Linked DNA regions of Homo sapiens: all the other regions are linked to region 1. Evidence: promoter capture Hi-C in human tissues and cell types (Jung and others, 2019). All regions are on one chromosome and are shown on one strand. The core of a region is centred on a gene start or on the middle of the fragment in contact, and the rest is flanking DNA. Distances in the headings are between cores, read along the strand shown.

Region 1 (4,284 bases), core at 1,057-3,556:
CTACACTCCCTGGGATGAATTCTAGGTTGGACGACAGATTTTCAAGATTTTCCTTGCATCCTTAAGAAAAGTTAGAATAAATAGAAGACTTGGGCCCTTGAAGTTTAATTTGCTATTTGAAAACAATTCAGGTTTAATATAGCAAGTTAGCATATACATGTTTGAATGACTACATTTATGGTGTTATGAAGAAGTGCTTTCCGTTGTCTAAATAGCAGTTATGGAGAAAGAGTGCATTTGTTTGTAATATCTGATAAATTGGGCCCAGGATTGAGTTTATTTAATGAAATAAAAACTCAAAATAAACATTAATCTAGTAGTACAAACATCTAGTATTTACTATTAAATGATCACGATCAGTTATTATTGATAATAATCATAAGTAGGCTTTATGAAGGCATAATAGATTATTATCATTTTAACTAGATTACACACTTCTTAAAGAGAGCATCTTATAACCCTTTATTTTCCCAGTGTAGGCATAGCAAGGTGCTCACAAAAATGTTTACATTATTTCCCTTCAATGTATTTGCTCAGGCACTTGGGCAACTAGATCAAACCTGGTTTGCAACAAGTTTGATGAACCTGCTACCTGACATTTCTGTCCCTCACATGAAAACTTCCTGACATTCCTGTCCCTGACATGAAAGTTTCTCTTAATTCACAGTCAACTTAGCTACCACAGATTGGAACGTGAGGGGCTGAAATAGGCAAGGAGACAGCGTGAGGAGGAGGTTGCCTTAGAAATAGAGGATCAGCCTCATTATGTCTATTCGCCAGAAGGAAAAAAAAAAATTCCCCAGAAAGCCTTTCATCAAGGGAGGATCTAAACTCTAACACAGAACTGTTATCTATCCGCACATGAATTTCGGGGGAAGGAGGAGAAAGAGGGAGGTAATCGGTATAATTCACCCCCGAGGCTCTTTCCAGTTCCAAGACTGATTCAAAATTGGAGAGAATGGTGGAACCAACACACCAACATTCTGAACCCCTTCCACTCTCTCAACCAAGGAAGGAAGGAAGGAAGGAAGGAAGGAAGGAAGGAAGGAAGGAAGGAGATAAAGAGGGAGGAAGGGAGAGAGAGAGGGAGGGAGGGATTGGAGGGGAGGGGAGGGGAGGGGAGGAAGTAGGGAATGAGGGAAGGGAGAAGAGGGGAGAGGTGAAGGGAGGGAGGGAAAAGATAGAAAAAGATAAACCCTGGCCCTTTATGTCACTCTCCATTTCTGGGATGACCTAGTTCTGCCAAAAGAAGAACCCAGCAGCGGGGTGTGCCAGGACGAGGTACTATTCTCCACCTGAGACCCCACAGTAGCTAGAACAAAGCATTTCCTCTTCTCCACACCCCAACCCAACCCAACTGGCCTGAAATCATTTCACAAATTCTGGGGGACATCGAATCTCTGTCCTTGGCCTTGAGTAAACCCAGAAAAGTAGATGGGCCAAGAAATAGATTGGAAAAGTGGATCAGGCCCCGCGGCAGCAATTTAGATGGAGGGTAACGCAGGGGCGGGCAGGCGTGGAGTCTCGAGTTTATTCTCTATGACTGGGACACAGCTGGCTTTGAATAAGAACATTAAGTATACAGCACCATATTTTGGTCTTGAGCCCAGCCTCCAGCCCGTGGCACTCAGCCATTCGTCTCCGCCAGCCAGGCCCTGGCCCTGATTGCCGCGATGCAGGGAATGCCCATCAACTTGCAGTCACACCTGTTAGGTGTTTCTCCACTCAGTGCCTCCGCCCAGCAAGCGCCCCCCGCACGACCGGAGCCCCTGTGTTGAGTGGGCGCACCGGGAGGAAGAAGCAGGGCCGGGCCTTCCCGAGCAGACCCTGTGGGACTCGGTGCGGCGGGCGGGCGCGTGGGGGCGGCCTGAGAAGGCGGGAGAGGTCGAGGCAGGCGGAGAGGGGCATTGGCAGGGCGGGGGCAGGGCCGCCGCTGCTCGCGTTACGTTCCCAGAGCCTGCAGCGGAGGCGCGGGGCTAAGCAGCGGAGGGGATGGGGCTTCCACAAGCTTCTGCATTTCCCCTCACAGCCCCGGCGCCGCCTCCCCTGGCTGGGCCGCGGTGCCCGTTAGGCCGCGCAGGGTGAGAGCTAGAGCGGGCGCGGGCGGGCGGCACCTCGCCCGGGACTGGAAGGGAGGGCGCAGCGGGGCCACGGCGGGGGGATTCCGCTAGCCGGGCGGCCCGCGAGTCCCCTGAGTGCATCAGCCCCCGCTGCCGCGGGACCGCGGCCGGGACGGAGCTCCCTGCGCGCCCCCCGGGGGCCGGCAGCGGCCAGGAGGCGGCGCGGGGCTCGGCCGCTCGGCCCTGCAGCTCCGCGCACCCGGCAGCGGCGGCGGTGCAGCCTCGGGCGTTCGGACAGCCTCCGAGCCCATGGCGGGGAGCGACGTGGACAGCGAGGGCCCCGCACGGAGGGGCGGCGCGGCGCGGCGTCCGGGGGCCCCTGGCGGGCCAGGAAGCGAGGCGGCAGCCGGCTGCCCGGAGCCGCTGTCCACTGCTGAAGCGCCGGCTGAGAGCGCCACGCTGCCCGCCTGGATGCGCCTCTACTTCTACGGGATGCACGGGATCACCCTGGACGTGCTGGTGTCCTCGGCCCGGCGCTTCGCCCGCAGCCCGGACCTGCGGATGCTAGGCTTCTCCTCGCCCTACCGCTGCCTGCTGCACTCGCTCACCCATTTCGCCCTGGAGAAGGTGTACCTGCAGCAGCGGCGCTGTCCCAACGCCTTCGTCTTCAATTTCCTCCTCTACCCCTCGGCCCACGTGGGGCTGCAGACCCTAGCGGGCCAGGCGCTACTACTCAGCCTGGGCGGCGGGGCGGGGGTCGCGGTGGCGCCAGGGGCGCTGGACCTGGCGCTGCAGTACGTGCTGGCGCTCTACCACTGCCAAGTGTTCCTGAAGCGCTTCCTGCGCTTGCGGTACGGGCGACAGAGGCGGCGGCAGCAGCAACAGCAGCAGCAGCAGCAGCAGCAGCAGCGGAGGGGCGCGCTCCCCGTCCCTCCCGGCGCCCGGGTCCCTACTGCGGCCGGAGCCCGGCGGCGACGACCCCGTGGCCCCAGGGGCGCCGGGGGAGCCCCCAGCCAGGGGCTGCCCGACCTACCCCGCTTTCTTTTCTTCGGAATGCACGGCTTTCTGGATGAGATCTTCTTCACCTTCTTCTTCAACGTACTGGGGCAGGGGGACGGGACAACCAGCGGCCACACGTCGCTCTGGTCCTTCTTTATGTACGGCAGCTGCAGTTTCGTGGTGGAAAAGCTCTACTTCCACCTCCACTACAGCCGCGGTTGGGGCACTTGGAAGCGGGTGCCCATCTACGTGATCTTCATCTACGTGTGGGAGCTGTCCTGGGGTCTGGGACTCCGCACGTGCGGGGCTTGTTCCTGGGACTATTCTCACTACCCGCTCAATTTTATGGGCCTCATCACCCTGATGTATTTACCTGGCTGGATATTCCTTAGTGTGTACCAGGACCTAATTTCCAACGTGTTGTGGAGGGTGCAGTACGTACCAGCTAACTAAAACCAAAAAAGAAAGAAAGAAAAGGAAAAAGTCACTGGATTCCCACGAATGGATGCGATTTATTTTTACACATTTAAAATGAAGTGGGTTTTTTAGTCCTTTAATTTTTATACGCTTTACTAAACTCTTCCAAATTGTTTTATTCCACCTTTTAGTTTTTCTATTTGAAACCCGTGTATAATATACTTTGAAACACTACTCGAAACATAATTCAAAGTACTTTATTTGCCAATGTTTTAAAACATTTACAAGCCCAAACGTTTACACGCCCAAACAGCAAAACCGTTATACCTTAACATCAGAATGATGTAGTAGTGTTTACCCATCTGGCAACAGATGAGTGACAGCTACTAATTTTTTTTTTTTTGGCGGGGGGGGATCTTTAAATCAGAGACCAGTGATTTTTACAAGATTTGGCTAAATTTTCTGATTCAGTGATTTGTTTTACTTTCTTTTTAATCTAATTTCATTTTAATTCCTTGCCATATTTACCAATGACTGAAGAAACTCAATGTCTTGTACTCTTGAGACTACAGTTAATAGCTCTTAAAGTGCCTCCGTCTAGCACACAAGTGAAAAGAGGCTGAAAAATGTGAAAGCACGTTCTATGAACAGATTTTTAAATGAGAGGTCTTTTCTAGCAACTCACACAGGTGACACTGTGTTAAGATATTTGATCTCCATCCTGGAAATGATTGCTTTCCAATGTGGGTAAGCCTTAAACAGCAGGTGTGTTAACGTTGATCAGATCCTGTGTTATCTATGGCTGTAA
Region 2 (4,607 bases), core at 1,898-4,397, 750 kb before region 1:
ATTGAAGAGGGCACGTATGTTTTGAGGGAAAAGTAAGAAAAATGAAAGCATATATTAGATAGATAGATAGATAGATAGAGATACATACACACATGACCAGATAAGGCAGTATGGTGAAATAGAAAGTAAAGGATAAGAAATGGGGAAGAAAAATAGTTTATGAGTGATAGGCCAGTAAAAATTCTCTTCCATTTTTCTCATGGCAAAGTTCCTTCCTGGTTTCTTGAATTAAAAGGAAGAAAATTGTTATGTGAGAAATATTTCTGTCACATGGAAATACATTTTGTTTTATTTCCATATTGAATGAGGAACATGAATTCCTTCAGTCAGAATGTCAAAGATAATTTTTTTAGAACCTAATATATACATTTTATTAAGCAATTTTTTCCAGAACGTTTTCAAGGTTAGCATGCTGCCATTTTGCCTAGTCTGCTCAGCTCCAGACAACTGGGTGATTTATTTCCTGAGTCCAGGGATGTGTCTTTTGCGGCTTCCTCCTCCTCCGCCTTTTTGACCACTTCTTCCCTCTACCGTCATCTCCATCTCTCCCTAAGTCAACACTCTTCTTCCTGCCTCAATGCCTCTTGAATCACTTACATCCTCTATCATTGTTCTCCATGTGTGTCTTGGCTTTTTCTCTCTGCCATTCATATTCTATATTTTTCTCTCTCACTTTCCCTTTTTCCTTTTTTCTTCCTGGATTGCGAGCAATATAAAGTAGACCTATGAGTTTTAAAAGATTTGGTACGTAAATTAATAAAATTTTGTGATTTTGTTCTAATTTCAAAGTAGGGTGATTTTAATTTTAAAACAACAGTCAAACTGAGGCAGGATAAGTAAGGTTAGGGAGCTGTATTAGTTCATTTTCACACAGCTATAAAGAACTACCTGAGACTGGGTAATTGATGAAGAAAAGAGGTTTATTGACTCATAGTTTTGCAGGCTGTCCAGGAAGCCTGGCTGGGAGGCCTCAGGAAACTTACAATCATGGTGGAAGGCGAAGGGGAAGCAAGTAGGTCTTATGGAGGAGCAGGAGAGAGAGAAGGGGGAAGTGCCACACACTTTTAAACAAAAGGATCTCATGAGAACTCACTCACTATCATGGGAACAGCAAGGGGGAAATTGGCCCCCATGATTCAATCACCTCCCACCAGGCCCCTCCTCTGATACGTGGGGATTATAATTCGAGATGAGATTTGGTTGGGGCCACACAGCCAAATCATATCGGGGTTATACTGACTTGTCCCCTTGTGTGAAGCCCCACGGGCCCCTCCACAGACAGCCCTACATCCCTTGCATCCTTGTGTGCATCAGCACTTCTTTGGCAAGGTAAGCAGTCCTACAGGATACCAGCAGACCACCAACCAGATGGTTACAAGTTCCTGACATCCAGTGTGGCCTGGGAAAGAGAACAAAAGTTTCTTATTCCTGATGGAATTTCCCCATTCTCCAACCAATCGGCACCAAAAGCCCAAGAAGCTATTAGGTACAAATTCCTGCCTTGGGGGAAGGGAAGGGGGAGGAGAAAGGAAAGTGGGTGGCCGGGGGCTTCTCTGGTGTCCTGCATATGCAGCTAGAATCAAGGTTTAGCTTTTAGTAAACTTTTCCTCATTTTAATAATAAAAAAAAGCACCCCTAGGTGGAGATTTTATATGCTAATGATACACATGATTTGTATTAGGGCATGATACATGCGGTGTGTGTTACTGCTAAGCGCATGCTCCAGCTGCAGGTCTGCCTTTGCATATTTGACCTTCCCAGGTCGTATTTTATGAAAATGTATGTACAGCTCCCATAAAAGGAATTCCTTTGAGGCACTAGCTGCTGTCTGCCTCTGAGTAGCTTGCTCTGCCTCTCAGAGTGTACTTTTGCTTTGCAATAAATAAACTTTGCTTACTCTTACTTTAGGCTCGCTCTCAAGTTCTTTTGTGCGGTGAAGTCAAGAATCCGTACCTGCTCACCAGCAACAAAACCACAGTGAAGTAAGGATATGTGTGATGTGTGTGTGTGTATGACCACGCATGTGTGTGCGTGCACGGTGTACATGTGTGTTGTTAATGTTGCTTAGAATATTCTCCTCCTTCACCATCTGACAGTCTCTGGTTCCTCTGGTTCATCCTTCAGAGTTTAGTTCAAATTTCCTTCAAAGTCATTTCTGTATGCTCCCCTATTCCCAATTTAAATTATACCTTTCTGCTACACTCCCTTAATAATGACCATTTCTCAAGTTTCTGTTATAGGCCATAGTTGTGCTTCAGACCTTATAAACATTATCTCATTCTGACAACAACTCTTAAAGTATGTCTCATCACCATTAATTTACAGATGAGGAACCATGGCTCAGAGAGGCCAAGGAATTTGTCTCAAGTACTCTGGGCAAATACTCTCCTGCCTCTAGGCCTTAGTACTTGCTGTTTCCTCTGCCTGAAATGCTCTGACTCCAGATCTTGGCATGGTTGGCTTCTTATTTCTAGTCATCTTTCTACTCAAAAGTCACCTCTTTGGAGAAGCCTTCCGTGATTACCCAATCTAAATAATTCTGTATCGTATCTGCCTGTTTTATTTTTTCTTTACTTTCTGAAAGTAACTTGTCTGTTTACTTGTGATGGTTAATATTGAGTATCAACTTGATTGGATTGAAGGATGAAAAGTATTGATCCTGGGTGTGTCTGTAAGGGTGTTGCCAAAGGAGATTAACATTTGAGTTCGTGGACTGGGAGAGGCCGACCCACCCTCAAACTGGAAGGGCACCAGCTAATCAGCTGCCAGCATGGCTAGAATAAAGCAGGCAGAAGTTGAAAGGACTTGACTTGCTGAGTCTTCCAGCTTTCATCTTTCTCCTGTGCTGGATGCTTCCTGCCCTTGAACATCAGACTTCAAGTTCTTTAGCTTTTGGACTCTTGGACTTACACCAGTGGTTTGCCAGGGGCTCTTGGGCCTTTGGCCTCAGACTGAAGGCTCCACTGTTAGCTTCCCTATTTTTGAGGTTTTGGGACTCGGACTGGCTTCCTTGCTCCTCAGCTTGCAGAGGGCCTATTGTGGGACTTTACCTTGTGATTGTGTGAGTAAATATTCCTTAATAAACTCCTCTTCATATATAAATATATCCTATTAGTTCTGTCTCTCTAGAGAACTCTGACTAATACAATTGTTGACTTATATATTGCTCATCTATTCCACTAGTTTTAAATAAGCATAAGAGGAAAGAGCTGGTCAATGTCCTTCTCCACTGTACCCTCAGCTCCTGGAACAGTGTCTGGGGTTATCATAGATGCTCAGAAAGTATATAATGAATAAAGAAGTGAATGAATAAATAAATAGAGAAATCTTGGACCTGGCCCTGTGACTTTTCTACTTCATGTTCTTTCCACCTCATCTTAATAGTCTGTATATCATTTAAGATTGTTTACACTGAAATACCCATATCCTTAAAAAGTTATGCTAATACTAATTGTATTATGTCAGGGTTCTCCAGAGAAACAGAACCAATAGGCTGTGTATGTGTGTGTGTGTGCATGTGTGTGTAGAAAGAGAGAGAAATTTACTTTGAAAAATTGGCTCAATAAATTATAGAGGCTGGCAAGTTCAAAACCTGCAGCAGGTGGCCAACAGGAAGGAGGTCTAGAGAAGAGCTGGTATTGTAGTTGAAATCTAAAGGCAGTCTGCTGGCAGAATCCTCTCTTGCTTGGGAAGGGCAGTCTTTTGTTCTATTTAGACCTTCAACTGATTGGATGGGGCCCACCCACAGACAGCAATCTGCTTTGATCAAAGTCCATCAATTTAAATTTCAGTCTCATCCAAAACACCCTCACAGAAACATCACTTATGTTCCTCAAATAACCAAACTACATTTTTTTCACCTTAATGAAGTAATGAAATAATTTAAATCAATAGGCATTTGAAAATTTAAAAATTTAAGTATTGATTAAGTGGCTATGACACACAGGGTCTGCTGGACGCTGGCTTTAAATAGGTGAATGAAATAGACACATTTCCTGTATTCATAGAGCTTATTTGATGGTAAAATAAACATGTTCATATTATCTCATATGATTTTCTTGTGTAACATCAAAAGAAACAACCTAAATTTTCTCCACACAGTGTCAAGATTACACATTTATAGAATTGGTTTTTGTTTCTCTTCACCCTGTAAGTGTGTCTTCAGTGTTTTGCCCTTTCCTAACAGTTTCATATGCAAAGGGCATAGTTGTGTTTATTATAACCTCATTATTATTGCTGGTTAATTTGGAGGAGTGACTGTTATGCTTAGGGCTTCAGTGTCTTTATAAAATGAGTGTAATACTTTCTATATTGTCACAATGGGATGGGAATGCAGTCAACAGAAAGATATAAGATTTTAATGGCAAATGGTTAGGAAACTTAGAGAGGCAGAAAAAACAGAGAACAGACACGTAAAACAGGAGTTAGCACAGTGAGGTTTCAGAGGCAGTTGTGACTTCTCATATGACCTTAGCATTGCTGTGAAATTACGTAGCTTCAGATGATACTGCCTAAATTGAGCAAGAACACCATCAGGTAGGAGAAGCTTCCTTTGCCTTTCTCTAGTTTTTTTTTTTTTTTTTTTTTTTTCCTCATGGCATCAGCTA
Region 3 (4,786 bases), core at 2,112-4,611, 820 kb before region 1:
ACAAGTTTATATTATAAGTTTATAATATTATAAATTGGGTGTGTGTATACTGTGTAATTTATAGAATTTGCATACTGTCTTCTGAAATACATTAAGGTGCACAGTTTAGATATGGCAGTACTTAACTATTAACAAAAATTGTAGGGAATTTCTTTTCTCTATTATATCTTTTATTTGAAAGTACTTTTTGTAGTAAAGAATGGTATGATAAATAATAATGCAGTAAATAATAAGAGTAACTTTTGCTAGGCACTTTATATGCATTTGGTACTCTCCTATAAGACAGGTGATGGTAGTCATCTCGTTCTACAAATGTGAAATGAGGCACTCAGGTTAAATCAGTGGTTCAAGATTCCACAGCTAGTTGGATTGAAGCAGGGTATTTCCCTGACCCCTTCACGGGCAGGAACTGGAGTGCACAGGTGCTGGAACTAGGCAGCCGCTTCAGTGCTGGCAGGGGAGAGCTCCACTCACTCAGACCACAGGAGTGGGAGCATGCAGGTGAGCAGGTGCAGGAGCCAGGGCAAAGGCTTTTGGGCACGGGCAGAAGCAAACTCTGTACTGGCCCCACAGCAGCATCTGAGAGGGTGCTGGTGACCCCTGAAGCCCCAGAGGAAGTGTTACAGTACTGTTTTAGCTCTGTCATCCATGGACAGCTTAAGTGTTAACAGCTTAGTGCAGGGTAGCTGTGACTGACTCACACCACACTTGTGGCACCCGAGCTCTTGTGTAGCATCCAGGAGGAATGAGGTCTCAAGAATAAAATGAAGATGGTAAATTCAGGGGATTTCATTACTGATGAAAGTGGCTCAGTGGGAAGGGGAAGTGAAAAGAGGATGGAGCAGGAAGGTAGTCTTACCTTGAAGTCTGGCCCTCTCTGGCCAGATTCTTCTCCCAGGTTACACCATCAAGCTGTCCCTCTGAAGTCAAGCTGCTTCTCTCTGACATCCAGCCATAGTGTCTGATGGCCAGCTGCCTCTCTTCCCTCTGCCGGCTGAGCCTGGGGTTTTTATGGGCACAGGATGTCAGGTGGGGTGGGCCATGGATGGTTTTAGAAAAGGCAACATTTGAGCAGGAAAACAGGGATGTAAGTTCTCACTTTGGGCCGTGGTATCAGGCTTTTCAGCTTGAGAGCAGGGTCCTTGCTGGGGACCTGCCCTCTTCTGCGTAGAATTTCCCTGCCTCCTGTCCCTATCTGGATGAAGCCAGTGTTTGAATCCACAATGTCTCTTTGCAGAGCTAATCTTTTAAAGCATTAAATGGAAGTGATCTCCATCACAAATATCTTCTAGCCTACTTATAGGAAATTAAAAGAAAACAGTAAGAGTGAAGATCTGAATTTCAATGCCCAATTTCCCTTTATAAATCAGTGGCCATGGAGTAGCAAATATATCCATTCTACATTGTATCACAAATAAGTTCACCATCAATACTGTTCTGGGTTACAGAAAAAATAGTAATTAGAAAACAAAACAACAACAAACCAAGTAAGTTTACTCAACTCAAATCAATAAATTAGATTAAATCCAGGGTCCAGGAAGATAGTGACTGTACTTTTTTGTCCTCTGTGTGTATATATGTATGCACATACATCTGTGACATATCAGAAAACACTGACTGTTGAAGATATATTTTTGACATTATTTCCCTGAAAGATATTATCTACATTGATTAGTTTATTTCAAAATTAAATATATGATAAGTTCAGTTCTGGAGGTTTTTTCATAGAGTTCTTTCATAAATAAAATGAATTTACATTTTAGATTCACCTCAGTTCCACACTCTGCATACCTTCCTTCGCCATTTTATTCCCTTCTCTTTCCCTATACTGCTTCCAAACAGGTCTTCCAATGTAGGTCTTTCTGTTTCCGCTTTTCCTGCTTTTCTTGTCTTAGTCCTGAACAGCACCTATCGCAGTGCTTTCCCTGTAGTGAGGATGAAGTAAGTAATAGCTGCTGCTGAATGAATGAATCAGTGAATGCTGTGGATTTTTTTTCCAGATTCTTTTCTCCTTTTTTATGTTCTGCTTTATTTTGCCCACTAGAGGGTGATATGAGCACACATAATTAAGAAAATGTATGGCACTGTGTTTTCTGTGAAGATATCAATAGCATTATATTATTTGTCTGCAATGCAATATGAAAATGATTTTTCTCTGTGTAAGTAATATAACTTTAGATTTTTATTTAATACACATTGACATCACATTTATTTGTTTTCTGACAACCTCTGTAACATTTCTTCTTAATTTAGGAACTCTTCACTCACGTGACATTGATATAAATGAATTCTTCTTGGTACTTTCAAGACAACTGTTTAAAATTACGTTTTTGTGTCAAAATACCTGGAACCAGTACGAAAGACTTTTGTTGTATAGAAACAGGAAAAAATGTGTTTTTATTTTAGTAAAGAGGACAGTATAATGCAATTATAGAATATAATATAATCAACATCTACAAGCAATGTATTTTAGAGCCCGAATTGCCCTTAACTATTTTCTGAATCTCACTTTTTGTTATATCATTCCCTTAAACATTTTACACAGACCCAGTCACATAAACTGAGATTTCAAATCTTTTGTCTGGAAACTAAAGCTTTACTTTCTAAATCCCTACTCTTATCCAGACACAATTGTTAATTATAAAATATACGTGGTCATAATTATGTTTTGGCCTTCAATAGTTCAACAGCTGTGATTTGGTTGGCTATTTTGAGACATATTCAGGGAATTAAAAATAATAAACCTAAAGGGAAATTCTTGACCGTTTATGACAAATCGTTTGATTATTTCTAAAGGGATAGTCATTTCTTACTAGCCATATTTACTTTGCTTTTTTTTTTAGTGTTTCTAGTTTTTTTTTAGTATTTAAATAGACTTCTATAGTTGTTTTTTAAACTGTATTTTTATAATTTTTTGGTTGATGTTTCATTTGTATTTTTGGAATCTTAATACTGACAAGATTAACCAATACTTGTTTTTTTATAATAGAGCATCTGGCACATTTCATAGTATTTTTAGTCAAGCTTTTGAAAAAATACAATGCTGCCTCCATAAGGAATTTTTGATAATAACAACTTATCTTTATGTGAATAACTTATATCTTGGCCTCGAAATTTTGTTATGTTAAAAAATACTGTAGTAGACAAGATAGTATAATAAACACCCGTGTGTTCACCTTATTTTTTAAATGTTTTGCCACATTTATTTCAGACACTTTTAAATTTTAGGAAATAAAACTCTACACATCGAACCTTCTTTGAGCTCCTGCCTGCTCTGGTTTTTTTTTTTTTTTTTTTTTTTTTGCTCTCCTCTCTGTGTCTCCATATGTAGGTTTGTACGTATACCTATGTTTATTATCCTTTTTCTTTATGTATTTTTTGATAGGGTAAAGCCCCCCTCTCATATTCTTTAAAATTGATTTGACTGTTCTCTTTCGTATAAGTTTTTGGATTAGCTTTTCAGATTCCATGAAAGCTTCTGGGAATTTTGATTGAATTGCATAAAATTTAAAGTTTAATTTGGAGGAAATTATCATTTTTGTAATATCAAAGCCTTTTGTATGTGAATATCTTTCTCCATGTGTTTAGGCCTTCTTTCAAATCTTTTGTAGATCATACATACATGTGCTATACTAATATATTTATATATACATATACACACACATATTTTAAAAGAATCACAAAATAATCCAGTCAAAAAGAATGAGATAAAACTAGAAAATTTTATGTTTTTTCCAATGTCTCACTTTGAAGACTATGAGGAAAATTATTTTTTTCTTTTTTCTTTTTGTTCTTTTCTTCTTTAACTTTCTTTATACTACTCCCTGGTTATGATATAGATGTAAGTGAAAGAGGTCAAAGGAAAGGCTTGTATTTTGTCTGCTCCTTATAAAACCCTTGATTGGTTGGGAAAAAAGATCCTTGGGAATGAAGGAGTAGCACCTGGGAGTGTGGGTTTTCTCCTTACCTCCTTTGCTTATATCCTCCATCAGAAATAAAGAGTAATGAGGGGAAATATAATTAAGAGAAGCTACAATAAGCAGAATTGGAAAGTTGATTTGCTACTCATCTTTTTTTTTTAAACGTTTCCTTTTATAGGATTGAGCCTCCATAATCTAAAAGTCCAGAATTCTCCTAAATGCAGATCTTTTTGAGTGCCAGTATGCGAGTGAACCCTTTGCTTTCCAATTATTCAGTGTACAAAAATTTTGTGTCATGCACAAAATTATTGAAAATATTATAGAAAATTACTTTCAGGTGATGTGTATAACATATATGTGAAACATAAATGAATTTCGTTTTTAGACTTGGGTCTCATCTCTAAGATAGCTCATTATATATATGCAGATATTCCAAAATCTGTAAATATCTGAAATCTGAAACACTTCTGTTTTCAAGTATTTCAGATAAAGAATATTTAACCTATATAGTTTTTTTGTTATGTAAGATGTCTGTTATTCAATCCTGAACTTGTAGGGGAAAAAAAGTGGTATCCCTATAGTCATCCAGTAGTCAGGAGTGCTATATTTATACAAATGAATTAAATTTCCTTGTTTGTAACTCCTTTTGCTTCTAAATCTTTCTTCATAAATATAAATGTGATTTAGGTTATATAGCTTCTTTTAGGTAGGTGTCAATATCTTTGAATAGCATTCTGCATCTCTCTCATTTGAAATCTCCATTAAAAGAAAAATCTCAGTGGTCTATAATTAAAGACATTTGTAGACTAAGTTTAGCAAAACATCTGAGATTAACTATAGAACATTTAATTCAAAACTCTAATTAG

What was found. The method cuts DNA at HindIII sites, captures the fragments that hold promoters and counts their contacts. A contact is called where the count stands out against the background at its distance.
Region 2: a fragment that was not itself captured here is called in contact with the fragment with the promoter of TMEM229A in region 1 in 2 of the 25 tissues and cell types used here (adrenal gland and dorsolateral prefrontal cortex).
Region 3: a contact is called between a fragment that was not itself captured here and the fragment with the promoter of TMEM229A in region 1, in 2 of the 25 tissues and cell types used here (dorsolateral prefrontal cortex and hippocampus).

What each region holds. Positions count from the first base shown.
Region 1 is chr7:124,031,089-124,035,372 of GRCh38, reverse strand. TMEM229A (transmembrane protein 229A) reads left to right here and starts at 2,306. Exons shown (of 1, transcript NM_001136002.2): 1 at 2,306-4,284. The coding sequence starts at 2,370. The coding sequence ends at 3,512. The HindIII fragment of the contact is 14,772 bases long and covers 1-4,284 here.
Region 2 is chr7:124,779,378-124,783,984 of GRCh38, reverse strand. LINC03043 (long intergenic non-protein coding RNA 3043) reads left to right here. Exons shown (of 4, transcript NR_167671.1): 3 at 1,909-1,982. Among named protein-coding and RNA genes, the nearest start is that of LINC03043, 9.1 kb to the left of the region's middle. RefSeq lists a silencer at 336-630. The HindIII fragment of the contact is 8,850 bases long and covers 1-4,607 here.
Region 3 is chr7:124,853,736-124,858,521 of GRCh38, reverse strand. The region is part of intron 9 of POT1 (protection of telomeres 1); the gene reads left to right. Among named protein-coding and RNA genes, the nearest start is that of LINC03043, 65 kb to the right of the region's middle. The HindIII fragment of the contact is 4,225 bases long and covers 1,249-4,786 here.